Regions from separate parts of the Homo sapiens genome. Here all the other regions are linked to region 1. Evidence: promoter capture Hi-C in 16 types of primary human blood cells and fetal thymus (Javierre and others, 2016). All regions are on one chromosome and are shown on one strand. Each heading gives the region's core, a stretch centred on a gene start or on the middle of the fragment in contact. The rest is flanking DNA. Distances are from core to core; before and after follow the strand shown. Region 1 holds the start of KHDRBS2 (KH RNA binding domain containing, signal transduction associated 2). Region 2 overlaps EYS (eyes shut homolog). Region 3 overlaps EYS (eyes shut homolog). Region 4 overlaps EYS (eyes shut homolog). Region 5 holds the start of PHF3 (PHD finger protein 3). Region 6 overlaps LOC124901228 (translation initiation factor IF-2-like). Region 7 has its middle 33 kb from the start of LGSN.

Evidence for each region. Contacts are between HindIII fragments. The CHiCAGO score rates a contact against its expected background, and 5 or more counts as called.
Region 2: a contact is called between a fragment that was not itself captured here and the fragment with the promoter of KHDRBS2 in region 1, in 1 of 17 cell types (monocytes). The highest score is 5.2, in monocytes.
Region 3: a fragment that was not itself captured here is called in contact with the fragment with the promoter of KHDRBS2 in region 1 in 1 of 17 cell types (monocytes); the score reaches 9.8 in monocytes.
Region 4: a contact is called between a fragment that was not itself captured here and the fragment with the promoter of KHDRBS2 in region 1, in 1 of 17 cell types (monocytes). The highest score is 6.7, in monocytes.
Region 5: a contact is called between a fragment that was not itself captured here and the fragment with the promoter of KHDRBS2 in region 1, in 1 of 17 cell types (monocytes). The highest score is 6.1, in monocytes.
Region 6: a fragment that was not itself captured here is called in contact with the fragment with the promoter of KHDRBS2 in region 1 in 1 of 17 cell types (monocytes); the score reaches 7.5 in monocytes.
Region 7: a fragment that was not itself captured here is called in contact with the fragment with the promoter of KHDRBS2 in region 1 in 1 of 17 cell types (monocytes); the score reaches 6.9 in monocytes.

Annotation. Positions count from the first base shown.
Region 1 is chr6:62,284,034-62,288,129 of GRCh38, reverse strand. It overlaps KHDRBS2 (KH RNA binding domain containing, signal transduction associated 2), which reads left to right and starts at 1,905. Exons shown (of 9, transcript NM_152688.4): 1 at 1,905-2,272. The coding sequence starts at 2,182. RefSeq lists a silencer at 1,956-2,045. The HindIII fragment of the contact is 7,395 bases long and covers 1-4,096 here.
Region 2 is chr6:63,902,306-63,906,401 of GRCh38, reverse strand. The region is part of intron 35 of EYS (eyes shut homolog); the gene reads left to right. Among named protein-coding and RNA genes, the nearest start is that of SCAT8, 98 kb to the right of the region's middle. The HindIII fragment of the contact is 803 bases long and covers 1,602-2,404 here.
Region 3 is chr6:63,815,965-63,820,060 of GRCh38, reverse strand. The region is part of intron 36 of EYS (eyes shut homolog); the gene reads left to right. All of the region lies in intron 1 of SCAT8 (S-phase cancer associated transcript 8), which reads right to left. Among named protein-coding and RNA genes, the nearest start is that of SCAT8, 11 kb to the right of the region's middle. The HindIII fragment of the contact is 5,816 bases long and covers 1-4,096 here.
Region 4 is chr6:63,795,370-63,799,465 of GRCh38, reverse strand. The region is part of intron 37 of EYS (eyes shut homolog); the gene reads left to right. It also overlaps the pseudogene LOC100422587. Among named protein-coding and RNA genes, the nearest start is that of SCAT8, 9.4 kb to the left of the region's middle. The HindIII fragment of the contact is 4,318 bases long and covers 1-3,877 here.
Region 5 is chr6:63,632,304-63,636,399 of GRCh38, reverse strand. PHF3 (PHD finger protein 3) reads right to left here and starts at 598. Exons shown (of 16, transcript NM_001370348.2): 1 at 250-598. RefSeq lists silencers at 1-3, 444-803 and enhancers at 21-841, 1,373-1,910. The HindIII fragment of the contact is 627 bases long and covers 1,619-2,245 here.
Region 6 is chr6:63,564,555-63,568,650 of GRCh38, reverse strand. It overlaps LOC124901228 (translation initiation factor IF-2-like), which reads left to right. Exons shown (of 2, transcript XM_047419610.1): 2 at 1-2,416. It also overlaps a transcript of LGSN not described here and a transcript of PTP4A1 not described here. Among named protein-coding and RNA genes, the nearest start is that of PTP4A1, 5.9 kb to the left of the region's middle. The HindIII fragment of the contact is 1,991 bases long and covers 949-2,939 here.
Region 7 is chr6:63,350,505-63,354,600 of GRCh38, reverse strand. It overlaps a transcript of LGSN not described here. Among named protein-coding and RNA genes, the nearest start is that of LGSN, 33 kb to the right of the region's middle. RefSeq lists enhancers at 1,359-1,448, 1,549-1,818, 1,889-1,998. The HindIII fragment of the contact is 3,983 bases long and covers 438-4,096 here.

The sequences.
Region 1 (4,096 bases), core at 656-3,155:
GTAGTCACATTGACCTCAGTCAATTCCAAAAGACAGCACAGTTCTTTCCACCACAGGGCTTTTTCAGGGGCAAGTTCCCCTGCTTGGAATGTCTTTCTTTGCACATTGTACTCACTTGGTTCATTCTTTTCCATGAGTTTTCACCGTAAATATCAGCTGCTTATCGAGATTGTATGTTTACCCTAGTCAAAAATAAAGAAACTAATGTCTTCCCTTGTATTCTCTTTCTTAACTCCTTGGTTCATTCTTGACCTTTATTGCAGTCAACAATTACCATTCCTCTTGTATACTTGGTTTTATTTATCTTCTCCCATTAGAAAACATCTTTGTGATGACAAGGAATGAATGTGTATGTATCTTATTCACCAATGTTTCTCCAATTTTAAGTACTGTCCCTAGACTCTTTTCAGTATCCAATAAACATTTGTTGAATGCACACATGCACAAATAAATTAAATATATAACACACAGAAAGGTAGGTTGAAGCAGTATATTCTGGATATAAATGGTGCTAATATAGAATTGAATTTTAATCTCAACTTCAGCATTAACTAGACATGAGACGATTTCTCTGTTTTGCCTCAGTTTCCATATTTATACAAACAGAGAAAGTAATACTTGGCTGGCATTTTTCAGAGTGCTTCTGTGAGGACGTATTGAAATAATCAATGTGAGGCACGTTACGTTATTTAAACATTATACAAATAAAAGTTAATCTCCCGAATTTATCTAAAAATTAAAAGGAAAATATTTAAATACAGTAAGATAAGTTGGAAAAATTTCAGCACATTTTATTTGTAGCAAAGTTGGCCCTCATTCTTCCACACCAAAAATAATGGGGGAGAGAAGAATCAGGAAATGACTACTTATGAAACGAGAACCCAAGACTTGGGGAAAGATTGTTTCCTAGCGATTGAGGCATGCAAGTTACATTTTATAGCCGCATTGGTAAAAGAAGGATGGGCTTTGCCTCCACGCTTGGTGATATCATGAGGGTTTAACTTTCCTTTAAATAGAGGTGGGATAATACAAAGTAGCTCAGCAACAGTACCTGGTGAAAGAGACTGGCACATCTAAAACTAGGAGAAAGGGGAAAATTAGAGCAAACGTGGTTACCTATTTTCTAGTCTCTTCTTTCTTCTACATGTCTTCCCAATTCTTTCACAAACTGTGACTAATGAATCATATTGTTTTTGGTTTTTAAATTCAGCCCCTCCCAACCTCCCTTCCACAGATAGGGTCTGGGGAAAGGAGGCACGGATAGGTTACCAGAACTAATTCAATATCCTAATGATTGTACACCTCAATCATGTCTCTGCACAATATTTCTTCGAGCCGCTTTATTTGTTTATCAATGAACATCCTACTGCGTCCCTGAGATGTAGGTCATCGGAAATACCAGCTGCCGATCACATGCAGTCTTCATTGTATTTCCAGACCCAGTGCGCTGCTGATTCCTGCACAACTGGAGTGCGCCTGAGCTGTGTGAGGGAAAGGAGACACCTGTGCCTTAGGGACGCAGGTGAAGTCCCATCTACCTTCCTGAGACTTTCCCTGGCGCTTTTCCACCCTCTCGGGTGGCTCACTTCTCATCTCCATCTCCCCTGTCCACTTGTACTCAGACCTCTCTCTTTAACCTGCGCTTTTCCCGCGCTCTCTCTCCTCTGCGCCTTAGCTGAAGACACAGAGAACTCCACAAAACTGGGCATGCCTAATAGCCAGGGAAGGCTTGGGCGCAAGAAGAAAGCGTTTGCATCTTCCGAGCTCCCTTCCCCTCTGCAGCTGCCTCCTGCCAGTCAGGCCACCCGACTTGCGCTACCGCCCAATGAGAGCCCGCGGCCTTCTGCCAGCGCCCCGCCTCTCCTGGCACCACCACCAATGAGTGGTTGGCGGAGGTGGGCCGCGTCCTGTTCCCGCCTCTCCAGTTAAGGCCGCTGGTGTGAGCCGGGGCTCTGCGCGAGCGAGGGACGACGGAAGGGACGGGCAGGTGTGGGCGCGGGGCCACGCAGCCCGACGGCGGGAGTCGCAGGTGCTGGGTGCATGGGCCAGTGAGGACGCACAGAGATCCCTCGCCGCGCGGAGGAGGAGCAGCGCGGGAGCCAGGCGCTGCCCCAAGACCCTGCCTGCGTCCGAGCGAGCGGAACCTCGCGCTTCGCCCGGGGACAATCCGAAGTCCGCGCTATGGAAGAGGAGAAATATTTGCCTGAGCTGATGGCAGAGAAAGATAGCCTGGATCCATCTTTTGTGCATGCGTCGCGCCTTTTGGCAGAAGGTAGGACTTGCCCCCACAGATGGGCACAAACCGCCGGCTGCCTATCTCACCCGCGGCTTGATTAGGGGAGTGAAGTTGGGGAGGGACTCCTCTCCCCGCCTTCGCAGAAACTGTCCCCCTGAAGATGCTCGCCTTAGAGCTCGGGCGGACAGACCCCGTTCTTGGGGCGGACAGCAGTGCTCCTTCTCCACGTCTTAATTTGGAGAAGACCAAAGCTACGGAGATCTAATGGCAGTGGCGATGTGACCTGTTAGGATCATTGATAGAGAAACCATAAAGTGTATGTAACGCGGTCTACAGGGACATTTTCACTTCGCAGAGGGAAGGGAAAGCAGTTTGGAAGTAAATGGTGATCAATGTAGTGTTCTAAGAGCTTCGTAGCTACAGATCGGTATTTTTATTTTTATTTTTTGCTGCATTTAGGAAGTGATTTTTGATACCCTTTAATCAAAGTCTATCCTATGGAAAGTGTTAGAATTAACCTATGCATTAAACTATGCATGTTCTTATATGTATGTTAATGTGGTAAGTAAAGGCTAAAGTGCTTATACATTTATTTGAAGTGTGATGATTGGGTACTCTGTGAGATATTGGTCCCTGGGAACACTCTATAATTGATCAACTGTTTTACCAAGTGTGCATTTTCTTTTGTGTACCTGTAATGTTAAAGGGGATTTCATTCCTAGAGGAACACATATGTCTTGTTTTTTGCATTGCTTTGAAAGGTTTTTTTTTGAAAAAAGACACATGAACTTTATTAACCGAATTACTCCATTTATGTTATAATAATGCCATCTAAATACTAAAGACACCTATGGTATCTGTAGTTACTTACCCATGCCTTTTTAAAACATCTGCAGATTTTTTTTAGATGAATGCTTCATTAATAATGAATTGCTTCATCATCAAATTGGTTACAATGCAGTTTTGTAGCTAAGTTTGTTATGGACTTACATACAGCAAAAAACTAAAACGGATAACTTCCTCTACCCAAGCTCCTCAGTATTAAAAGATTTTTTTGAGACTTAGTTGTACCAAGGAAGAATAAATTCTGCTCCTCAATATATGATTTAAATAGGCATTAGCTATATTTTTTAATTTATGAATTGTTATTTATATTAACAATGAAGTGTAAGGTATTTTTCTATGTTTAAATACTAAACAATTAGGAAAAGATTTATATTCAAAACATGGAACATGTGAAATAACTAAACTGTTTTCAGGGAAAAAGCTAGTTTTATAGATAAGTGGGAAGGTGAAATACAATTATGCCTACTACTTTCTTGGTTACTGAATGAAAAAAAATATAAATTAAAGTGGAAAAGTAAAGTCAATAAAAACGAACTTTTTTTACTTTCCCAAAAAAGACAACTACATAAAAATAATAGCAAAATAATGTGTTAATAGATGTTTAAGATTGTTTGAAATGATTTAAAAGGCAAGTCTTACCAGTCTTCAGTATCTTTAATATATTTTGAATAGTCTTCAATATATTTTCCAGAATTTTCTTTATGTAGCTTATAATATGTCTTTAAAGTGAAAAAAAAGTTACAAATTGATCATTCTCTCTGACCCGCTAATTGGAGTTCTATTTGAGACAAGTGGCTCAAAGATTAATTCATCAGTCATTAATATGAGTTATTGTACTTGAAGACGGCCAAGCTAAATAAATGCATACAAGAAACTCTTAACAGAGTGCATAAGTATTTCTGTGGCTGGTAAAACAGTCAGAGAATGCACTTGGTTCCTTAACATTTTATCTTTCCTAGGAACTTGATTTCTTGATATAATACTTAGGAACATGTTCTGATGTACCTTGTAATT
Region 2 (4,096 bases), core at 754-3,253, 1.6 Mb before region 1:
TTCTAATAAGCTGCCCTATTATAAATGCAGCAGACTTCTTTTGCAGGCATTATTTGCATAATAGGTGCCGTAATTTGTGGATGGCACCTCAGATAAAACATAAAATGTCTTTCAACCTTTGCAGTACAGTAGACTAAAAATATAGTGAATGAAATGCTAAGTGAATTACTAAAACTTTATGGCATTTTATAGCTTTGTAAAGTAATTATGCTTCATAACAAGGAAAACTGGGTATAATTTTGAAGAATTGAGGTAGACACCCTCTTACTCGAAATATCTTCCTACATTTTATAACAAATTAGAGATTGACGCAGCATAGTGACAACATTAGCAAACTACAGTTATTTTTTGCTTCCAGGTGGCATACATTGCTTTTTAAATATAAGAGCAGACATTCAAATGAGCTTCAGGGATTGAGCAACACGTAGGTTATTTTCAAATGTCCTCACTAAAATCAGGAGAAATGTTTTTTTCTGGAATTTCAATTATCCAGCTTAGTCTGGATGCTGACCCAGACAAGAAAGGCCATAACGGGGATAGGAGTAGGAGAGACAACTGACACAAAATTATTTCTGAGCAGAATAGGTATATGTCAAGAAAAGCTTACAGGTTAGCCATGATCGTTTGGTTGGAATCAGTGTAAAGATCAAAATCGACAGGCAAATTCTAGTCCACTGGGTTAGAGAATTTAACACAATACAGTACCATAAAATGTGCCGCTGATAGTATTTGAGTCATTCTATTAAATTTTACTCCTGAAATCCCCTTATTTGGCCAGGCGCGGTGGCTTACGCCTGTAATCCCAGCACTTTGGGAGGCAGAGGCGGGTGGATCACGAGGTCAGGAGATGGAGACCATCCTGGCTAACATGGTGAAACCCCATCTCTACTAAAAAATACAAAAAATTAGCCGGGCGTGGTGGCGGGCGCCTGTAATCCCAGCTACTCAGGAGGCTGAGGCAGGAGAATGGCGTGAACCTGGGAGGCAGAGCTTGCAGCGAGCCGAGATTGTGCCACCGCACTCCAGCCTGGGTGACAGAGCGAGACTCCGTCTCAAAAAAAAAAAAAAAAAAGAAAAAAAAAGAAATCCCCTTATTTAACTGGCTACATCCTCTCTAAAATGATCTTTTATTTAAAGGCCTTTCCACATAAAAGGGAACAAAGTACTGATACATGCTACGACATGGATAAGCCTTGAAGCCTTGAAAACATGCTAAGTGAGAAAAGCCAGACACAGACACAAAAGGCCACATGTTGAATTCCATTTATATGAAACATCCATACTAGGTAAACCCATAGAAACAGAAAGCAGATTAGTGATCGCAGAGGACAGGAGCCAGCAGGAAATGACGAGTGACTGCTTAATGGGCATGGTGTTTCCTTTGGGGTGATAAAAATATTCTAGAACTAGATAGTGGTGACAGTTGCACAACAATGTGAATGTACTAAATGCCACTGAACTATACACTTTAGAATGGTTTAAACAGTGAATTTTATGGTATGTGTATTTTACCACAGATGCAAAAGAGGCCTTTCTAATTTGTCTGGTTTGACTCATACAAAAATTTCTTCCAGATCTAGATCTTGTCAGTCCCTGAAGCTTTGCAATTTGGAGAGGCTTCTAAGAAAAATAATTCAGAATAGCAAATACAAAATGCCTGTTGCTTCTCCAGGCAAAACTTATGCAAGTGAAGGGCCCTGAGGCTCGTCTTTCCATGGCTTCATGACAGACACCTCTCAGTTCCTTCCCCAAGAACTGCAGAGAGGAGAGTCCCATTATCTGGCCTAAGTTCCCAGTTAATACTTGCTCATCTTCCCAGAGGTGATTTGGAAGGTCACCATTTTCTACAGCATTGAATCAATTTTGAAAGACTTCCCCTATTATCCAGGATGAGGAGCCGAAGGCCTGACACTGCTTTCCCAGGTTGAGTGTGCATGCTTCCAGGTATATTGAACCCTAACCTATGCTTAAACTGCTAATCTTGGGAGCTATCGGGCATGGATACATTGCTATATCATCAGTTGCTAAGTCATAACAAGGGTCACTATAGTGTGAAGATAGAAAAAAAAAGGTTGGGTAAGTCAAAGTAAGAATGTATTAAGATGAATATGAGAAATAAATGTATCAGACTGAGTTACTGGAAACAACTCGGGTCAAGGAGTCATTCAGAGGAAACACAAGCTGCACATCCTTTACTACTCCAAGAGCATGAAGCAAGGACAGTTGAGACACAGGGCCCCAGCCAAGCAGAAAAGAGAGCTGAGCCTCGCAGGCCCACTTCTGGCTGCCATGATTACAAATGGAACTCTTCATATATTTAAGACACTACATGAGAAAAGCTATAGAAAAATAAACAGTGGATAAGACTGGAGCAACGCTAGTTATCTTTGCCTTAAAGTAAGCTTTTGGCAGGAGGAGGGCTATATGTAGAAAAGGACAAAATCGAGGGTTATAAATAAAGATGTTTGTATAATTTCACCTTTTCAGAACATCTTAGATTCTACCTACAGTCTTTTGTGTGTCCTTCTCACACAGTGAGACTAAATTGGAGTCATTGACCATGTCCATTTTCTAATCTGCCTCACCTGATAGCTATTTCTGCACAAGAGGATACCTCCTGTCTGCGTTCCATCAATATCTATTGGGGAAGACTACATCCAGGGTCCTGTTCTATAGACTGAATAAAACAGACAAAACATCCCTGCTTTCATGGAGCTTACATCCTAGGGGTAGAAAAGAAACCATAAATTGGTAAGTTATGAGAAAGTTATAAGTGTAGCGGGGTAGGGGGACTAGGGTAAAGGGAAGGAGAAGTGCTTTCACAAGGCAGGGGTAGCAAGGGAAGAGTATTCCATTTGACATAGGTTCAGGTTAGGCCTCATTGCCACCAAAGATTATTAGATAGATAAACTAGAGAAACAATGAAGTTAAGTACCTAAGTGCCATTTCAGTCTATATTCCCTAACCAATTTTATTCTTACAAATTTCCCTTTCCATACCTATCACATCAGTCAGGTCTAACTCATTCCTTTCCTTTACATATTGTGTTTATTTCTACTCTATGCTTTTGCTCACATTGTTTCTCAACTCCCTGAATCTCCAGCTTGATGACCTTCCTACCCCTCACATGTATTAGCGTGAAGGATATTTTTTCTTCCTCATGAGCTCAGATTCCACTCCCAGCTTAGATTCCATATTTGATCAATATGTTCATTCTTCCATATAACCTCAAATCTGTGTTTCTTTCTCCTCCACTGCACCTACACCTGTAAAGCTGACCTAGTCTGGCAAAAAATATATGACTGTGACAACTGGTTGCGCATTAAATTCATAATTACCAACTTCTGATGGATCCTTAGTGCACCTCCAAAATCTTAAATTTCCCAAAGCTATTCACTCTTTCCTTCTCCTAGGTGACATTTAGTACTTCTCCTTTCTTCTCTAACACCTAGCACCTTCTCCCCTACTTCATGCTTAGCCAATTACCCTGGTATACATAATCAGAAGAGAACTTCCAACAAACCTCCATAAGCAACCTACATCTTTATTCATATACTGTTACCGCCCATGCCCCTCTTTCAGTAAACTCTTGCTCTATTGCCATTTTTATGCCTTATTCTACAGTCAATATTTTTAGCATACTATTTGAATTCCCTTTTGGATTTTTTATATTATTTTGTATTATTTTCTTAGTGTTTTTTAGGGATTACAATGTGCATCTTAATTTACCACAATCTATTTCAGAATACTAATGTAATTCCAATAAAAATTATAAACTTTTCTCTTTTATAGCTTTTTTCCTCCCAAACTTTTCATTATTATTATCATACATAATATACATTTATATGTTGTAACCCAAAAAATACAATGTTATAATTACTGCTTTATACAATTTTATTTTCTCTTAAAGAAGTTTAAAGATGAAATGAGAAAAAATATAGATCCCTTTGTTTGCTGCACATTTACCATTTCCAGTACACTTGTTTCTTCCTGAGGACTTAAGTTGCCAGCCTGAAAGAATTCCTTTAATATTTCTACTAACAAGAAATTCTCAGTCTTTATTTATCTATAATGTCTTTATTTCACTTTCATTTTG
Region 3 (4,096 bases), core at 1,086-3,585, 1.5 Mb before region 1:
TGTGGAAATGGCTGTGATGCAAGAATTAGAGGCCATGCAAGGCCTCAATGTGGACTTTCCCTTAAGAAGTAGTACTTCAGAAGTGTCACTGTTGAATCCTCATTTCCCCATGGCTACAAACAACCCGGACCCCTGATATAATCCCAGGGATGAAAGGGGGACTAGTCAGCCTAGTGGTAGGTTGATTACATCATGGGATTGGCAGGAATTTGTCCTTATTCTCCTGATTACTTGTTCTGGATTTGGATTTTCTTTCCCTACTAGTCATGGTTCTTCTACCATTTCTTTTGAGGGAGTTCATCAATACAGTGTGTCATTATGGTATCCTGCACAATATTACTTCTAAACAACAGGCTTCACAGTGAAAGAAATAAGGCAGGGAGAGATACTGAACTTATGAAATTTATCACCCAAAAGTTATTGGCCTTATAAAATAGAAATATCGTATATTAAAGACTCTGTGGCAGCATCAACTGGGCCAACCTTCAGGGTAACAGCACCATTCTGAAAGATGTCATGTATGCTGTGAAACTTTAACTGACACGTGGTGCTATATTTTCCACAATCATACTACACAGATTCAGAAACCAAGGGGGAGCAGAAGAGCAGTCTGTCTCGTGATCATCCCTAAAGACCCACTCACAATTTTTCCTCTCTCTGTGACTCTGAGCTCCACTCATTCAGAGGCTTTTGGCACCCAAAAGGGTAAAGCTCTCAAGAGACATAGCCATAGTCCTATTGAATCAGAATTTACATCATCCACCTCCCTTTCAGGCTTCCATGAAACCACACAAACAGGTATGAAGGGGCTTGAAGGTGTTGCCCCGAGTGACTGATCACAATAGGCACAGAGAGGAGAGTCATGCATTCATTTATTCATTCAATAAAGAGAGCCTCCTATGGGCAGGCACTGTTCCAAGTGCTTAGGATGCAGCAGAAAACAAAAATGACAAAATCCTGCCTTCACGGACCTTACATTTCAGTGAGGTGGGGAGACAGTCTAGTGATTTGTGAGAAGGTAGATTATAAGTGCTATGGAAAAACAAAAACAAAAATGCTGAGAAGAAAAAGAGAAGAAATCCCTGGGAGGGGATCAAGGTGTTTTTATAAGAATTCAAGATATTTTTGGATGGAAGGAGACAACTCACTTGGATAGATGAATGGCAGAACTTTTTGTTACTTACAGCTTCAAATGGGAGAAGACTGCCACAGGGCCACACGGAGGTTTCCCTTGGAAAGGGCTTTTGTGTGGCAAGTCAGGTGGGGTTAGTTAGGTTTTGAGGGCTCTCTGTAGATTGGCTAATTGGAATAATTCTGAGGGCTCCAAGGTGTGTCCCTAGTTGTCTGGTGCCTGTCCCAGGGCAATTAGGACAGGAGTGTGGTGGCCTGGAATGTGAGAGTCCAGGGAAATGACTAGCCTCCAACCAGGGCCCCAGACTGGGTTTAAGACAGCATTTCTTAAAAAACCTTACCACACAGAGGAAGGTTAGAAGTAAATAGAGTGTACAGGATAGGACAAGATAGGCCTCAGGGAGAAGGAGAAGGGTGGAATTGAAAAAACACTGAAGGTGAGAGAATTAGCCAGCAGGTGAAAAAGTGTTCTGGTAAAACCCAGGTAACCCTCTCAGTCAAAGAAGCTGTGAATATGGATGAGGAAAAAAAAACTACATCTTTCTGTGAACTCCAACAGAAACTTAATGTATTCTTAACTATGAAAATCAGCATAAAATCACAGTTGTATTATCAGCACCTGCAACTTTGTCACCAAGAGAAATCAGATCCCTTTTTATCAAATGACAGTTGTTATATACTGTATTAAAATATGCTTGTGCCCCCTCAATGTGAAACTGCTGTAGTTATTATACCTGCTGCTAGATTTTGCTATTTAAATACATTATGAAAGGACTATACTGTTTCCTTCATGACAAAACATTTGTTATAATTTATTAATTGTATTTCAAAAAGGTGGATTTGTTTTATAATCTTAGGTATTTTACTGTATGAATTTAAAAACATTATTCTGAGGAGGGTTCCCACTAGCTTCCCTAGACTGCTATAGAGGTCCATGACATGCATACATTAACAGGCACACATGCACACACACAGTGAGAAGCCTGCCTTGGGATAGTGCTTCACACATCCAATGGTAAGAGTTAATGGAGGCCTCGTGAAGCTCCTGACCGCAGGCCCACCATGGCCTGGCCTCTCAGGAATGATGACTTGCATCACCACACCAGATAAAGAATCCAACCAACTGCAGGGCAGGCGGCAAGCAAGGAGGACACAGAAGAAAGAATTTAAATTTGCTTCCCCTACGTGAAAGGAGAGAGCATCCAAAGAAGAAAGTTCTAATATGAGAAGTGGCCTTATGACCAGTTCCAGGAATCTGGAGTTTAGCCCCAGGGCTTCCTGGTGAATGCCAGTCATTTGCAGGTTAGCTCTGAGATGCATTTCTCACCCTGTACAAACTACATTTTCTCCTACCAAGGCAAGGTCCTGTCAGGAGACAGGAGACTGGGGGGAAGAGAAGCTACAGAATTTCTCCCCTCTCCCCTCCACTAGTAGCTGCATCCGCGATTGGTTCCAGCTGCCACTTAACAGGTCCCCAAGCTACCCGTGGTCCCATGTCCTGATGAGCAGCCCCCATTACCGGACCCAGCTCCTGTCAGGAGGTTGCAGCTCTTGGGCTTTTGTAGCACTGTGTCTTCCCTTTGTTCTTTCAGCCATAGAGGTAGCAGCTGCTTTCAGCTGTTCAGTTGTTGCTATCCTCTAGGTGGCCTCACCATCCCCTGTTTGCTCTCCCTTCATAATTAGCTCCCTGTATCAAGTCTTTCCTTTTGACTATCTCTTGTGGATGCTGATAAGCAAAAAAGCACAATAGTAGCATTACCTTTGATTCTGTCACCAGGAAAAATCACAGATACTTCCATATCACATTACAGCTGTCATATGCTCTCTGGTTTCTGTAAAGCATTTGAGTTTAGTAACTGAAATTTAGTCTATATCAGGACAGTATCACAACATAAACATGAGAACAAATGGCCATTATGCAGAGATTCCTTCTGTACTTGGAACAAAATGCAATAAAAGAAAAGACTTTAAGAAGTCTCCAATTGGGAAAGAAGGGTGACACTTTTTTTGATTATATGTGGGATTGTTGCATTATGTTAAAAGGAAGTTATTTGAAAATGCAAGTATAAGAAGGATGCACGTTGGCACTCAGCAACCAAAGGTCTGTGGGAAACATTTATTGGGTATTACGTTTGTTTCAGTTTTGGATTTTGGCCACGTAGCACGTGAACTTCCTTCTTATTTGCGTACATGTACATGCCTTAGGATAAGCCAATGGGATAATCTCCCCAAGATTTGCACCCTGAAGAAGTGGTCCAAAGAGAGAGAGTAATATTTAGAAATTATTTGTAGCTGAGGTAGTTGCACAGCTGTCCCCAGTCATAGAAATACCAGTGGCTGCATCCTGAAATAGCTGTTCACACAATGTGAACTTGGCAGTATTTGAGCTACCTATGTTCCTTTGTTTTTCCTGCTTTCCCTGCTAGTTCTCCAGCCCTCCCACTGACCATGAGGTAATCTGTCTCCTTTCCTGCTTAAGATGGTCAGGGTTAGTTTATATTGCCAGTAACCAAGAAACCTAATTGGTACAGTTTTATTCCAAGTATTTCATGCTATAGCAAATAAAATACTTTATTTCATTATGTTTTCTGATTGTTGTTCTTAATTATTCCAGTCATCTTTTGTAGTTCTATAATACTCCATTATAGTTTGAGATAGGCACCTGCTCACTATTAGTACACAAAATCTTGGGGCTATTAGATATAACAAGATCCTTTCCAATTAAAAATAGTACTCAATATATGTTATACCTTGTGAATCATGTATGATATTTTTATTTTGTTAGTATTACTTAGAATAATCTCTTATACCATATTAATATGAAATCTTTTTATATGCTTTTGAAACATCATGTGGTGTTGTGGTCCCCAGAAATGAGTTAGTATTTTGCAAGATGCCACTGCCTTCTTCTAGTACTTCAACAGCTAAACCACAGTTGTCTTAAAATTATAGTTTTCCCTATAGT
Region 4 (4,096 bases), core at 469-2,968, 1.5 Mb before region 1:
TTGATTCGGATTGTAGTGAAGAAGTTAGGATCTGATCTAAATGAAGGGGGAGGGGAAACATGTAGCACTGTTTGAATCATTGAAATATAAGTTAAAATCTCAACTGTAGTTTGTATTAAAATTATATAATACAGTAATAAAAAAAATTTAGGAGCCGGGCACGGTGGCTCATGTCTGTAATCCCAGCACTTTGGGAGGCCAAGGCGGGTGGATCACCCGAGGTCAGGAGTTCAAGACCACCCTGGCCAACATGGCAAGACCCTGTCTCTACTAATAATACAAAAATTAGCTGGGTGTGGTGGCAGGCACCTGTAATCCCAGCTACTCAGGAGGCTGAGGCAGGAGAATCACTTGAACCCGGGAGGCGGAGGTTGTGGTAAGCTGAGATCGTGCCATTGCACTCCAGCTGGGTGACAAGAGTGAAACTGTCTCAAAAAAAAAAATTATATATATATATATATATATATATATATATATACACACATATACATATATATATATACACATATACATATATATATATATTTTAGAAGAAATATATTTGACTTCCTGGAAATTTGATCTATGCACCTAAGCACTTTATGCACATAGCTGTCAGTCACCAGCATGTAGATCTTCTATGCTGTGGTAATTATGAAAGGTTGCCTCATATTTTCTGCCAAATAATTTCTTGTTTGCTTCAAGCCCTTAGTTATAAACTGTAACAGAAATAAGAGTGCATAAATATAGCTTGATTATTTTCCTGTGGAAAAAAAATGAAATGAATGTCACCCTACAGAACAGAAAAAGAAAATTGAAGCAGGGAGTGTCACAGAAGCAATCAGCTCAGCCTGTTCTTCAGAGAGCCCTGGTAGGGATCAGGCAGAAGGAAGATGCCTGATGAATGAGAGCAGGCTATGGCCAATTCCCTAATGTAACACATAGTTCAATTGCACAGCACTGAGGTATTTTATAAACAAAACTGACAGTGTATGCCTATATTCAATTTTTTATAACAGAAAAATGCTCATTATTTTATTCTGTAATCACACCAGGAAGACTAGAAATCATGAGAATTTTCTTCCTGAGAACCTCAAATTATCAAATCTTGGTTTTCATGGAATCAAATATCCTGTACTATAATGTCAAAATTGTCTGTTTTAAATTATTTGAGTCTTTTAAAATAGTTTAAAAAGAAGTTAAGCTATTCACTTTCCCGACTGACTGAGAAACACATAAAAATTGTCACATGTGACTAGTATTCAAACAGGGTTAGAAATGACAAAGATATACAGATACTTGCAAATCTTCCCCCATCTTTTTTTCAAATGTATTTCTGAAGAGGGAATATACACTTAAGGATGGTTCAAAGTGGGTAACCTTGATTTCACAGGGGAACACTATACTTGCAGTAAGCCCATGTGGTTTCATCTTGTGGAAATTTAAGTTTACCCACAAACTGGTGCTTACATCCCTTATTTTCACAGTCTCATCTCTGACAGCAAGAGAGATACAGATTTGCCACTTTTTCTAGTCTCACCTCCTTTTGCTCAAGAGATATAAAAATGTGGGCCATATGTAGCCCCAAGAAATGCATTTTATCACATTTTCATATTCTCTGAGCATAGCACTGGATTTGTTGTTCCTATCAACCCTTCCACACTGTCTGTTCACTAGCACAGATGGAAGTCAGGACACCATATTAATTTGGCCACAAAAAGAGCCAGTCTACATTGCCTACATTTTAATGGTTTTAATCCCATGAGGTAGACACTATATTGTATCCATTGTGCTCAATGGCTAATGATGAAACATCATGGTCATGGCTGTACATGGTTCTAATGCTCTCAAAACCCTAGAATATCCATAACTGAATAGTCCCATCAACAGAACAGGAAGCCAAAAGTTTGCCACTATGAACAGGAGCTATACAGGTCTAAGATAAAAAGAGACTATATGCTCTTTAAGAGTTAATCCAAAATCTTTAGTCATCTTAATTTTAGTTTAGCATCCCCTAAAGTAGAGACTGTAACTGAATATGGGATAAAAATGGCTCAAATGTCTAGAATCCTATATCACTCGATACATCTTGTTCCGGCAGTAAGGACTTTCACTCGTTTGGGTCTTGTTTCTCACGTATCGACCTAGATATATATTTTTTGTTTTACTTTAGTTTTGATTCTAATTGCATAAACTTCTATAATTTTCCTAAGACCTTTCACACTTATTTAACTTTTCATTCATATCTAATTTCACTTTCTTCCTAAAAACTGAATATACCCTCTCATAGCCAGTTGAAAAGACAACTGAAACTCAATTAGGTTCATCTGGGTGTCTCTGTCGCAGAATCATTATTTTGTTATATTAAGAATATTTAATCAAAAGATCGTTTCCTTCTTTCAGAAATCAAAAGGCATTACAAGCCCTAGAACTATAATCAAATATGGCTGCAAAAATATCTTCACAAAACATTCCTCCAGATGGGAACTCCCACCAGTAATCAAGCGCCATTCTGTAAGCAATATTCATTTGGTGGGAGAACCACAGCACCATCGTTGTGGCTCCTCTTACATTTTCTCTTTCAGCCTTGACAGGAAAGGAAGAAGGGAGAAGGAAAATTTACTTGTCACTTAGAATTTCTTAATCCATTTGGAAATATCTTTTAAAACACTTGAAGTTATTCCTAGAGACAATCCTATGAGGTGTTATCTTTACCAGTTTTTTCAAAAGAGTGAGATAACTGGAAGTGAGCAGCCAAAACTTAAATTAGCAAAATGTCCAAGATTACACGCTCATGTCCTTGTACTACTTGGGACTTTGCTGAACTCTGCAAAGTACATTATCATATTTAGAGGAATAAATTAAATTTAATAAATGATACTATTTTACCATATTAGAATAATAGTTTGAAGAAATAACAAATTACAACTATTATTCCTTTACTATTAAGTCTTTCCTTCTAAATGAAATACTTTAGGAAATTTAATCTATTGGAATTAAAAGACTGTTGGATCATCTGAATGAGGATTACCATGTTTCTATGATGTTAAAAGTCACAATATTAACCTTTGCATTAACTGGAATATGCTGAAATACACATGGATCTCACAGCACTGTCTATATAAATGTTTTAGAGTCCCAATATGCCCCTTCAGAACAATCCGAGGAACAGCTTCTAAACCATTGTGAACCCTTATGTAAAGAACTTGAGAGTGAGCTTCTGCCACTTCCAGACAAGTAGTTCTAATTTCTGGGGTACGCCCTAAGCACATCAAGTGAGAACACAAGCATGTACCACTTCATAACTTACAACACACAATGATTAGTGAGAATCAGTAGGAGAAACAGCAGGACGGGTGTGCCTCGAAAGTCTCTCCAAAGCACAGACTTGAATTACATCTTTAATAAATGAGTTTTATGCTTCCTTTGAGGGTTTCATTAATGAATCCATGGCTTGAACCACTAGCTACTCTTGTCCAGGCCATCCTTCAAGGTGGAACTAATTAGACCACTTCTAATTACAGTTACTTCATGGGCATGTTTTTTTTCTCATGAGAATTTCATAATGATTACCATAAGGCACTCAGGGTTGCCGCACAGTTCTGACAATTTTCTCTCCTTGTTATGTTTCTCTCTTTTTCCTTCAGGTCAAGCTGACTTGCACAGTTTCTCCTGGGCTTACTCTCTGAAACCTTTGATTCTTTTCCTCCTTCCTATATAATAGATTTCCCCTTCTCGTTCATACATGCAAATTAAATCAGAGGCTGTGCTGACAAGGTTCAGCCAGGTTGGAGAACTACCAGTATAAATAGTAAAACCTTTAGGTTTAAAATCAAACCACCTACGGAAAAATCCTGCAAGCAGACCTAAGTAATTTAGGGAAAAAATACCATAAGCTTAACTATAATTATAGGCTTGTGACAAAAACATTTTTTCATATTTGCTCCCAAGGTTGTATATATTTAAGATCTGTTACTATCACTACCACCCATACCTTCTGCATCAAACTTTTAAAACCCATCTGAGACTGCTTAGAATGTCCTGACACTCTTGTCTCAACTACTTTGCTCTTTTCTTTCAGAATATTCATAGCAGCATCCTTTACCTTGTTTCCATG
Region 5 (4,096 bases), core at 683-3,182, 1.3 Mb before region 1:
CCGCGTCGCTGCGACTCCCTCCCCAGCCCGCGGTCCAAATGGTCCACAGGCGCCAGCGGCGCGGCCCAGGTAGGCCGAGGACGTTGCGCAAGAGGCCCGAGAGGCGATCTCTCGGCTGCGCGGGAGAAAAGCGCGGAGAGTCCGCCGCGGGAGGGGCGGAGAGGCCCGCGGAGGCGCTGTGCGTGTGGAAGGGGATGGGGGAGGGGAGGATTGCCCGTCTCCCTGGCCGCGGCCACAGCCGCAACTCACCCAGCTCCGCCAGACGAGCGCTACCACTGGCAGCAAGAGGAAGATGGTGGACGCTGCCGCCGCCGAAGAGGAGGAGGAGGGGGCCCGGTGGGTGCCGCGGAGAGGGGGTACGCGCAGGACGTCGGCGTCGCTGCCACAGCCTCTTTTCCTCCTGGGACCAAATGGCTGCTGCTGACGACACTATTCTTGGCTTCCGCGCCGCCCTCCTAATCCTCGTTGCAGCCGCCGCCGCCCTGAGCCCGAAGGTCGCTTGCCGCGTGGGGACGGTGCGACGGCGCGAGACCCCGCAGCCATCGGCGTGCGGCGGCGGCGCGGGAGCTGGAGAGGGGCCGTGTCACGTGACCCCACTGTTTACCGTTCCGGGGGCCGCGGCCTGCGTCGCTGCCGCGCCTGCGCGCTTTAGGGCCTCGAGCGCCGCGCCTCCGTGGGGCCCCGGGCTGCAGCGCTTCCCGGCGTTGCCGCGCCCCTCCCTGTCTTCGGAGGACGCGGCACCGCCTGCGGGCTTCTAGCTCACACCTCCGCGCCGCCGGGAGGGGCGAATCAGAGGAGCGCTTTTTCTCGACCGTAGTAAGCACTAAGGCTTCACAGTTAATATAATATTGATGCGCAGCTCCCCAACCCCAGGTACTTTTTATTAATTGACTGTGAGTTCAAGAATGGTAGAATAGGATGGAGTAGATGAGCCCTCTGCCCAAATATCTGTGCTGGCTCGGCACAGCAGCCTTACCATTAACTACCTCCGTTACCCTCACCCTACATGGCTGATCTACCTCAGGACTCAAATTGCTACCTCCAAGAAACATTCTTGGTATCCAGTAAGCAGTCTTCAGAATGTGGTCCCAGGTTTCCCTGAGGGGTCGCCAAGACCTTTCAGTAGAGCCTCCATTCCTTTGCCAGGAGCATGTGTCTAAGGCCAAATTTTCTTCCCACCCTTCAACCAAAACAGCATATAGCAGCTGATTCAATGCAGAAACAGATAAGAGAATCCAGCCATCTTCTATTAAGCCAGACATTGAGGAAATCTGCAGAAATTTTAGATATCACCCTTTTATTAATTTGGAAAATATGCTTTTCATAAATACATTATTTGTGGTAACAAATATTGTGTAGAGGTCCAGAGACAAAAAAAGTTTGAGACCCACTGGTCTGCTTCCACAGACACTTGAGCTAACCCCTATCTCAGCCCTTAATAAGCGCTGTGAAGTAATTGTTGCTTGTCAGTCACTCCAACCAAAAGGAGCTACTTAGGGACAGGGTTTGTGGCTTTTATCTACAGGGACTATTACAGTATTCAGCCAGTACCTGCTGAGCACCTTACTGTGTGGTCTGCACTGTTCTAAAACCTTTACAGTACTTGTTGATTTAAGCTTTAGACCAACCGCAGCCCACATTGTAAGATTAGTGCAGGGTGGAAGAATAAGTCACAGGCATGTGGTGAAGATCTGTTCTTTCCTCTCTCTAGTCTTCTGATATTTTAAGCACTCTTAATAGCAAATGCTCTTCTACAAAGGAAGTTTGGGTTGTCCTGATTCCACTGGATTCTTAAGAGTTTCACCCCCTGTCTTGACTAATCAATCCCTCAAGACTTTGTTTTACAATCTTTTTGTAATGTGTTTTTGAGAAAGGAAAATAGAAATGAGTAATTTTTTTTTTTAATTCTCACTTGGGATGTCTGGGATGAATTATAAAAACAAGCCTAATGTTATTCTTACTCTTCTGGTGGATCTCAGTGTGACGTTTTAAAAGGGCGTTCAGAAAAAGTAAAATTATTGTTATAAACAAAATCCAACCCCGAAGGAATTCAACAGAGTAGAACTTGATGACGGAGACCACTAGCTGGAAAATCCCTTAGAAGGGCTGAGGAAAACTTACCTTCTCAGAGAAGTTTTAATAAATTTAAGATAAAACAAAATGGAGATTAAAAGAAAATGTAAGAATCATAAGACTGTCACATTTACAAAGCAAAGATTTCTGATCCTTAAAAAGTCAACAAGCTTGCCATAGGCATGATGTTTTGATTCTGTTATTTTGAACCAGCCAAGTGCCCAGATTCACATTTGTCCACTAATGGTCTTTGCTTTTTGCTTCCAGATGTAAACACGAACTGTTTATCTTATACCCAATTCATAGAAAGGTTAGTAGAAGAAAGAACCAGCATAATAATACTGGCAACAGCTATAACTGCACACAGGACTTATTGGAAGATCAGATTGTATCAGTAACATTGAAAACTCCAAATTAACTTGGGAAAATTAAATTTGGTAGGAAAACAAGACAGAGTAATTGATAATGACTAAAACTGACAGTGTATTTGTATTTAACTAAAAAATTATCAAAGAAGGAAAAGTGATAAAATTTGGATCTTGCAAAACATTGACCCAAGAAAACTGAGCCTGGCAGAGATTAAGACCATGGAAGACAGTAAACAATGTAGACACAAAAGTCAATTTTGATATGAAAAATGCTTGTCATCACTGAAACATTGGTCCCTACAGTAATCAGTAAACTAAATATGGAAAAAAAAAATTGGAAGAATTAACCCCTATGAGCAGAAAGTCAATAAAAATATTAAATTTATTTAATGAAGTTTTTTCTGGCAAACACTTTGTAGACATGTACTTTCGTGTTAATTTAGAATAGATTTAAATGTTTGTATGCTTAAACACAGAATCAAAACAGTGGGGTCAAAAGATCTCAAACTCAGCCGGGTGCGGTGGCTCACGCCTGTAATCCCAGCACTTTGAGAGGCCAAGGCGGGTGGATCACCTGAGGTCAGGAGTTTGAGACCAGCCTGGCCAACATAGTGAAACGCCGTCTCTACTAAAAATACAAAAATTAGCCAGGCATGGTGGCAGTCCCATGTAATCCTAGCTACTCTGGAGGCTGAGGCAGGAGAATGGCTTGAACCTGGGAGGTGGAGGTTGCAGTGACCCGAGATGGCACCACTGCATTCCAGCCCGGGCATCAGAGTGACAGAGACAAAAAACAAAATAACTCAAACTCATTTTACCGAGATCATCATTGAACTTGGAGGCTTAAGTTACAACACTTTTTCTTACATCGTGGGCTTGCTGCCTTCCACACATTTTTTTTCCTAGTTTCTCCGGAAAGATGGCCCATAGCTACTCAGGCTTTCAGCAGTAAACAGTGGGTGAAAAGAAGTGCAAGCCCCACCGGGAGGTTAAAATTTCCATAGCTTACCTCTGTTCAGGGGGTGGTGCCTAGGAAGGCTGGGTCAAACAATAAAATAAAGCTTTTCCGTGCATCAGGACTGCACAAGCTATAAAGCACCTTTGTAAACTTCAGCAACGTTAAGGCACAGGAAAAGAGCAGAGAGAGACCTGAGGCATCAGATTTTTAACTAACTCTGTGATTAACCGTCTTTGTGACCTTATCTCTCTAAGCTCCTCTGCATTACTCTCCCTGCCAACACACTTCATTTGCTCATTTGTTTATTCATTTATTCCGTTATGCACCCCAATAGGTTTCAGAAATAAATGGTATTGTTCCTGCCCTCAAAGAACTCAGAAGAGTGGCAGTAGATAATTAGGATTCAGCCTGGTGTGACAGCAGTTGATGCAAAAGACCCATATTCGTGTTTTATCTGGCCTGGAGTGGGTATGGGGGCATTTCTGACAAAAGGGATGTCCTCAAGGTCAAAGAAGTACCAGAGAGCTTGGTGTGTTTCAGGAACTACAAATGATTCATTATCTGAATTGAACATGTTGCAGCCATGAAAATAATCAAAATTCTTTTAACAAAGAAACTATCTGTGATGTTGTCCCTCAGTGACAATATTACCTCCCTACTTGAAATCTTTTCATAGTTCTCCAAAATATAAAGAATA
Region 6 (4,096 bases), core at 695-3,194, 1.3 Mb before region 1:
GATGGTTTGTGACAGCTTTTTGTCGAGCAAGTCTATCAGAGCCATTTTTCCAATAGCATGTGCTCATTTCATGTCTCTGTGTTACATCTTGGTAATTCTCCCAATATTTCAAACTTTTAAATTATTATTGCATTTGTTATGGCAATTTGTGAACAGTGATCTTTGATATTGTTATTGGAATTGTTTTGGGCCACCACAAACTGTACCCATTTAAGATGGCAAACTTATTTGATAAATGTTGAATATATTCTGACTGCTCCGCTGATGGGCCAGTCCCTCAGTGAGACACAGCAATACTGAAATTAGGCCAATTAATAACCCTACAGTGGCCTCTGAGTGTTCAAGTGAAAGGAAGAGTCATTCATCTCTCACTTTAAATCAAAGCTAAAAATGATTAAGCTGAGTAAGGCAAGTTGAAAGCAGAGATAGGCCGAAAACTAGGCCTCATACCCAAAACAGTCAAGTTGTGAATGCCAAGGAAAAGCTCTTGAAGGAAGTTAAAAGTGCCACTCCAGTGAACACAGGAATGATAAGAAAGTGAAACAGCCTCATTGTTGATAAGGAGAAAGTTTTAGAGTTCTGGATAGAAAACCAGCCACAGCATTCTCTTAAGTCAAAGCCTAATTCAGAGCAAGGCCTTAACTCTCTTCATTTTTATGAAGGCTGAGAGAGGTGAGGAAGTTGTAGAAGAAAAGTCTGAAGATAGCAGAGGTGGATTCATGAGGTTTAAGAGTAGAAGCCCTCTCCCTAACATAAAAATGAAAGGTGAAGCAGTAAGTGCTGATGGAGAAGCTGCAGCAAGTTATTGAGAAGATTTAGCCAAGAACATTGATGAAGGTGGCTACACTAAATAACAGATTTTCAATGTAGACAAAACAGTCTTATACTGGAAGAAGATGCTGTCCAAGACTTTCATAGCTATAGAAGTCAATGCTTGGCTTCAAAGCTTCGAAGGACAGGCAGTTCTCTTGTTAGGGGCTGATGTGGCTGGTGACTTTAAGTTGAAGCAGATGTTCATTTACCATTCTGAAAATCCTAGGACCCTTAAAAATTATGCTAAATCTACTCTGCTGTGCTCTATAAGTGGAAGAACAAAACCTGGTTGACAGCACATCTGTTTAGCATGGCTCACTAAATATTTTAAGTCCACTGTTGAGACCTACTGATAAAACGTGATTTATTTAAAAATACTATTGCTCCTTGACAATGCACATGGTCACTGAAATGCTCTGATGGAGATGTACAAGGAGAGTAATATTGTTTTCATGCCTTCTAACACAGCATCCATTCTGCAACCCATGGATCAAGGAATAATTTTGACTTTCAGGTTTTAATATTTAACAAGTACATTTCATAAGGTTATAAATTGCTGTAGATGGTGATTCCTCTGATGGATCTAAGCAAAGTAAACCAAAAACATTCTGGAAAGGATTCTAGATGCCATTAAGAACATTCATGAGAGGAGGTAAAAGTATCAGCATGAACAGGAGTTTGAAAGAAGTTAACTCCAACTCTCATGGATGACCTTGAGGGCGTTCAAGACTTCAGTGGAGGAAATCACTACAAATATGGTGAAAATAGCAAGACAATTGGAGTTAGAAACAGAGTCTGAAGAGTTGACTAAATCGCTGCAATTTTATGATCAAACTTGAATGAATGAGGAGTTGCTTCTTATGAAGGAGAAAAGAGAGTGGTTTCTTGAGATAGAATCTACTGCTGGTGAAGATGCCGTAAGCATTGTTGAAATGATAAAGGATTTAGAATATCACATAAACTTAGCTGATAAAGCAGTGGGTGAGTTTTAAGAGGACTGATTGCAACTTTGAAAGGAGTTCTCTTGTGTGTAAAATACTATCAAACAGCACTGCCTGCTACAGAGAAATTTTTTGTGGAGTCATCAATGCAGCAAACTCCATTGTCTTATTTCAAGAAATTGCCACAGCCACCTTAACCTTCAGCAACTACCTCCCTGATCAGTCAGCTGCCATCATCACTGAGGCAGGATTCTCCAACAGCAAAGATTATGACTTGCTGAAGGCTCAGATGACTGTTAGCATTTTTTAGCAAAAGTATTTTTAAATTAAGGTATTCTAGGGTACCCGTTTTCCCCACTTCCTTTCTGTGTCTTGACCAAAATCACAGTGACCCAGCCAGCTGTAGCCATAGGTTTTCCTCAGCTGGCTTGAACCCAAACCAGCTTGAACATTCCCAGGCACTGATAATAATGTCTTGGTTTACTGGAAAGAAACTGACCCCGACCCTGAGCCGAATTCCTTAAATTTTCATGTAAACTCCATCCCCTCACCCCCTGGCTACAGACTAATGTGGGTAAAACATCCCTTTTCTCTTGCTGTCCATCACAATAATACATTGCAACACCCTGCAAGTTCCTTTAATAAATGTTTTGGACTGATCACTCTGGCATTTAGAGCTGCTTTCTTTGAAATCTCAAACCAGCCCTGTCTTCAAATGGTTTGGGGTACTCTGTTGTACGAATTCTCCTGCTGCTGCTTTTAAGGCAACTCCAGCTATGGGTTCAGTGGGACAAAACAGGTATGTACATTTTTTAGACATAGTGCTATGCACATTTAACAGACAACAATGTAGTGTAAATGGGAAACCAAAAAATGCATGTGGCTTCCTTTATTGTAATACCTGTTTTATTGTGGTGGTCTGGAGCTGAACTTGCAATATCTCCAAGGTATGCCTATGCTTAAATCTCTATGAACATATAATTTGCAGTGCTTAAATATTGTTCAAAACTAAAACATGCTCTATATTAAAAAGTGACTTAATTTTCTTCCTTAAGACATTGATTTAAAGATTTATCAAAAGTCTTTTGAGTAAGTTTTGATGAATAATCAAAATGCTGTAGCAGAGCTACATCCTAATTTCTGTGGGAAATTTAGACACAGAAATTTCCAATGAGCAAATAAGCTTGTCACAACAAGCCTTTTAAGGAATCTGGCCTAAGGACAAAGTCCAAAGGCCAATAGCTGCCTGTGGGCTACTGTGTTTTGTTGAGTCAGACATATAGAAACAGTCACCCACCTAGGAGGGTACTACAGATGTAAATATTTATATTAATAAATGAATCCTGCTGGATCAGAAGTAACATCTTATCAAGTCATCATATCAAACCATTTGAGGTAATATTTTCTCTGTAAAATTGATTAAGGCAGTTTTGAACAACTTTTTTTTTTAAAGTCTATTTTAAGAAACAATTCTCTTGAATCGATCTCTATTATGCCCATTCTCTGTCCCTTTTTCATGTCTAATTGTAATCAATTTAAATATAAACCTGAAAGTTGTCTAGGTAGTCTCCAAATCAAATGAGAATGTGTATTCACATTAGTAACTCTGCCGCTTAATATAGTATTTACTTCTGTAGGAGCTTAGTGTGTGTATTAAGATGTGACAGATACCGCCTGGGCAACACAGTCAGACCCTGTCTCTACAAAAAAAAAAAAATTATCTGGGCATGATGGTGCATTCCTGTAGTTGTAGCTCCCTCGGAGGTTGAGGTGGGAGGATTGCTTGAGCCCAGGAGTTGTTAGGGCTGCAGTGAGCTGTGATCATGCCACTGCACTCCATCTGGGGCAACAGACCAAAGACCCTCTCTCTCAAGGAAAAACAAAAAAGAAATGATGGACAGATTGATTAGTAAGAGAATACTTTTCATTTGCATGCTGAAAGGCACCATTTCCTTGGGGCACTGAATAAAGGACTTATTATGAATCTATCCATAACTCATGACTGTTTTGCCTACTGGTACCTGGAGGAATCTAGTTTGAGAAGACTCTTCTTATTTTAGCAAATTTGGTGAAATTTCTGTTGCTGTTCTATAGCCTGAATAAAAATCATTTGGGAATTGAAAATCAGGAAGGCCACAGTCTCCATGTGATTGTTTAGAACATGTTGAATTATGCCACAGTCTGAACTGAGGCAAAAATAGCTTAGGAAAGGAGAATTTAATCTGGCTAGAGAAAGGGAATGGAGTATAAATAAATTTTAAAGGTTGGATATGCATGCTATGGCAAAGCTGTCACTTGACAGGTTTAATTTACAGAGTTGGCATTTAGGCTGCAGATAATCC
Region 7 (4,096 bases), core at 1,180-3,679, 1.1 Mb before region 1:
AGTTTTTTTGAGAAATCGCCATACTGCTTCCATAGTGGCTGTACTAATTTACATTCCCATCAACAGTGTACAAGAGTTACCTTTTCTTTGCATCCTCACCAGCATCTGTTATATTTTTGTCTTTTTAATAATAACTATTCTAACTGGGGTAAGATGGTATCTCATTTTGGTTTTAATTTACATTTCCCTGATGATTAGTGACGTTGAACATTTTTTCATGTATTTGCTGGCCATTTGTGTGTCTTCGTCCAAGAAATGTTATTCAGACCTCTTGCCCACTTTTTAAAGGGATTATTTATTTATTTTTTTTGCTGTTTGAGTTCCTTATGTATTTTGGATATCAGTCCCTTGTCAGACAAGCAGTTTGCAAATATTTTCTCCCATTCAGCAGGCTGTGTTTTCATGATATTGATGGTTTTCTTTGTTGTGCAGAAGCTTTTTAGTTTAATATGGTACCATTGTCTATTTTTATTTTTGTTACCTGTACTTTTGAGGTCTTAGCCATAAAGTCTTTGCCTAGACCAATGCCCTAAAGTGTTTTCTCTAGGTTTTTTCCCTAGTAGTTTTATAGTTTGAGGTCTCATGTTTAAGTCTAATCCGTTTTGAGTTGATTTTTATATGTAGTGAGAGATAGGGGTCTAGTTTCATTCTTCTGTGTATAAATATCCAGTATTCTTAGCACCATTTATTGAAGACGGTGTCCCTTTTCCCAATGTATATTCTTGGCAACTTTATAAAAAAAATCAGTTGCCTTATATGTAGACTTATTTCCAGGTTCTCTATTCTGTTTCATTGGTCTATGTGTCAGTTTTTGTATCACTGTAATGATGCTTTGGTTACTATAACCTTGTAATATATTTTGAAGTCAGGTGGTGTGATGTCTGCAGCTTTGTTCTTTTTGCTGAGGACTGCTTTGGCTACTCAGGCTCTTTTTTGGTTTCATGCAAATTTTGAGATTGTTTTTTCAATTTCTGTGAAAAACATTATTTTTTCTTTTTTTTTTTTTTTTTTTGCTACAAACTGCTTCTTTCTAAAAGAGAAATCTAAGTCCAGGTATTAATGAAGTAGGAAAAATTTCAATAATTATAAGAGTATAGTAGAAAACTTCACCTTACGTTCTGTTATGGTTCCCTACAAAATACTCTGTGATAGAAGCTATTTCTCTGGTAGGGAGAGTCTTAAACATCTGTGAGCATATCCAGGAAGGCACTGTTGCCAGGGATGGGAACATTTTCTGCACAGGAGACCCTGTTAGGTACTAAGGATCAGGTTTTCCTGTGTGTCTCAGGATGTTGCCTATTGCCTCTTGCCTGTTGGGTCTGCAACAGAAATCTGCAATTTCTGGCCAGACTGCTCAATTTCCTTCCCCTTTGGTGTTACTGACCTCTGCTGTTAAAAAGCAGCGCCTCTGCTTGCCTCTAAAGCTACTCTCTGGTTTCCAACCATTAAAACATTCAATAACCAATCTCATCATTCTGGAAAACAAATATCCTGGAGCTCAAAGGCTACAGAGACTTTTCCAATTATTTCCTAAAATGGCTTTTTAGATTTGAAAGTTCTTCTGTGAGAACCAGGGTCACGTGTCTGTCTTCAGCGTTACAGAGAAAGACAGATGGAGGTTGTTGCGCTCACAAGAGAAAAGGAAACTTAAGGCAGCTTCCCCTTTTCTTGACCACCGGATGTGTCTTCTGCAACTTCTGTGAACTCCAGTAATTGAGGTCATATTGTGGCATTAAAAAAAAATCCAGCTGTTTGCATGGTTCCCTTAATCCTTACTCTTATCTAATTCAACCACCTAATCTGGCCAAGAAATGTGAGGGGAACAAAATTCTATCCCTTTGTTTGAGAGACAGATGAACAGTCTCTAACATAACCCACAAATAAAACTGTGTGTCTGTGTGTGTGTGTGTGTGTGTGTCTGTGTGTGTGTGAGAGAGAGAGAGAGGAAGAGAGAGAGAGAGAGACAGACTGGAGTGCGGTGGTGTGATCATGGCTCAGTGAAGCCTTGATGTCCCAGGTTCAAGCAATCTTCCCGCCTCAGCCTCTTAAGTAGCTGGGACCACAGGCATGTACCACCACACCTGGTGAATTTTCGTATTTTTTGTAGAGATGGAGACTCTCTATATTGCCAGAGCTGGTCCCGAAATTCTTGGTTCAAGCAATCCTGCCTCAGCCTCCCAAAGTGCTGGGATTCTAGGCGTTAGTCACTACACCTGGCCAAACAAAACATTTTTAAGATTATTGATCTTAGTGGAGTCCTTGTGATAAGGCATAAGCATGACATTCCAAAATAGAAAGAATACAAAACAATGGATTTGCGCATAAATATCTCTACTAACATGTGAGTTTTGGAAAATTCCCTATTTCATGAATCATTAGCTTGTAAGTTTTGTTTTGATGTTATACAAGCATTTCTAAAACAAGTCTGTGTAGATGTTGCCACCTACTGTTTGCCTAGAAACATCCTTCATATAATTCATTTCATGTAACAATAGTCTTTTTTCTAATTGCATTTATTTTCCAGGAAGGTCATTTCTGTCTCAACCATTTCTTGTTTTAAAATTATTTGTCTATTTGTTACTTACTCTTAAGTACCATATCTACGAGGTCATTACAAGAAATTCTTTCTTTATACATTGGAAAATCCTGAGGCAATGACACAATTTTCTTTAAATGTTCTCTGATATATTGAAACAGTAAATCAGTCTCAGGTTTAAAAAGACTATACAGTATATGTCATTGAAACATCATTTAAAAAATTATTAGTCTCCATGTAAATCAAAGTGGTCAAGATCATTAGATTGCTGTTAGTTTTATTTTGACATTCATATTTAAGATATTTAGGCTGAGTGTGGAGGCTCATATCTGTAATCTTAGCCCTTTGGGAGGCCGAGGTGGGTGGTTCACTTGAGGCTAGGAATTCGAGACCAGAGTGGCCAACATAGGAAGACCCCGTCTCTACTAAAAATACAAAAAATTAGCCTGGCATGGTGGCGGGCACCTGTAATCCCAGCTGCTTGAAGCTGAGGCACAAGAATCACTTGAACCTGGGAGGCAGAGGTTGCAGTGAGCTGAAATCGCACCACTACACTCCAGCCTAGGTGGCAGAGTGAGACTCTGTCTCTGTTTCTGTCTCTCTTTCTCTGTCTCTCTCTCTCTCTCTCTTCCTCTCTCTCTCTCTCTCACACACACAGACACACACAGACACACATACACACACACACACAGAGATATTTATAAAGCAAATATCTGCTTTTTTTCCTTCCTTTTGTCTTAATCTTTTCAGGCTGCTATTAGAAAGCACCATAAACTGGGTGGCAGATAAATATCAGAAATGTATTTCTCACAGTTCTGAAGTTTGAGAAGTCCCAGAACAAGACACTGGTAGCTTTGGTGTCTGGTGAGGGTCTGCTTCCTCACAGACAGGGTTTTCTCACAGTAACCTCACATGGTAGAAATGGGAAGGGATCTTTCTGGGGTCTCTTTTATAAAGACACTAATCCCATTTGTGAGGGTTCCATTCTGATAACCTAATCGCCTCTCAAAGGACCCACCTCTTATGTTAACCTTGGGGGTTAACATTTCCACATATGAATTTGGGTGGAAGAGACACAAATATTCAGAATATAGCACTGTAAATAGTTTTGGATGTTAGTGATTGAATGGCAAATTCTTTTTTATTAGGATAAAAAACCAATTGTTTTACTTACCAATTGGTCGTCTGAACTCGTTTTTGTTTGTTTGTTTTTTTTTTTTTAGATGGCTCTGTGGCCCAGGCTGGAGTGAAGTGGCACCATCTCAGCTCACCGTAACCTCTGCCCCACAGGTTCAAGTGATTCTCTTGCCTCAGCCTCCTGAATAGCTGAGATTACAGGTGTGCGCTGCCATGTCCAGCTAATTTTTGTATTTTTAGTAGAGAGAGCGTTTCACCATGTTGGCCAGGCTGGTCTGGAACTTCTGACCTCAGGTGATCCACCCACCTTGGCCTCCCAAAGTGCTGGGATTATAGGCGTGAGCCACCACCCCTGGCCTGAACTGTTTACTTTGTAGTTAGTTTTATGATGTGCCTGTGGCACTATTTTCAGTATGCTGTTTA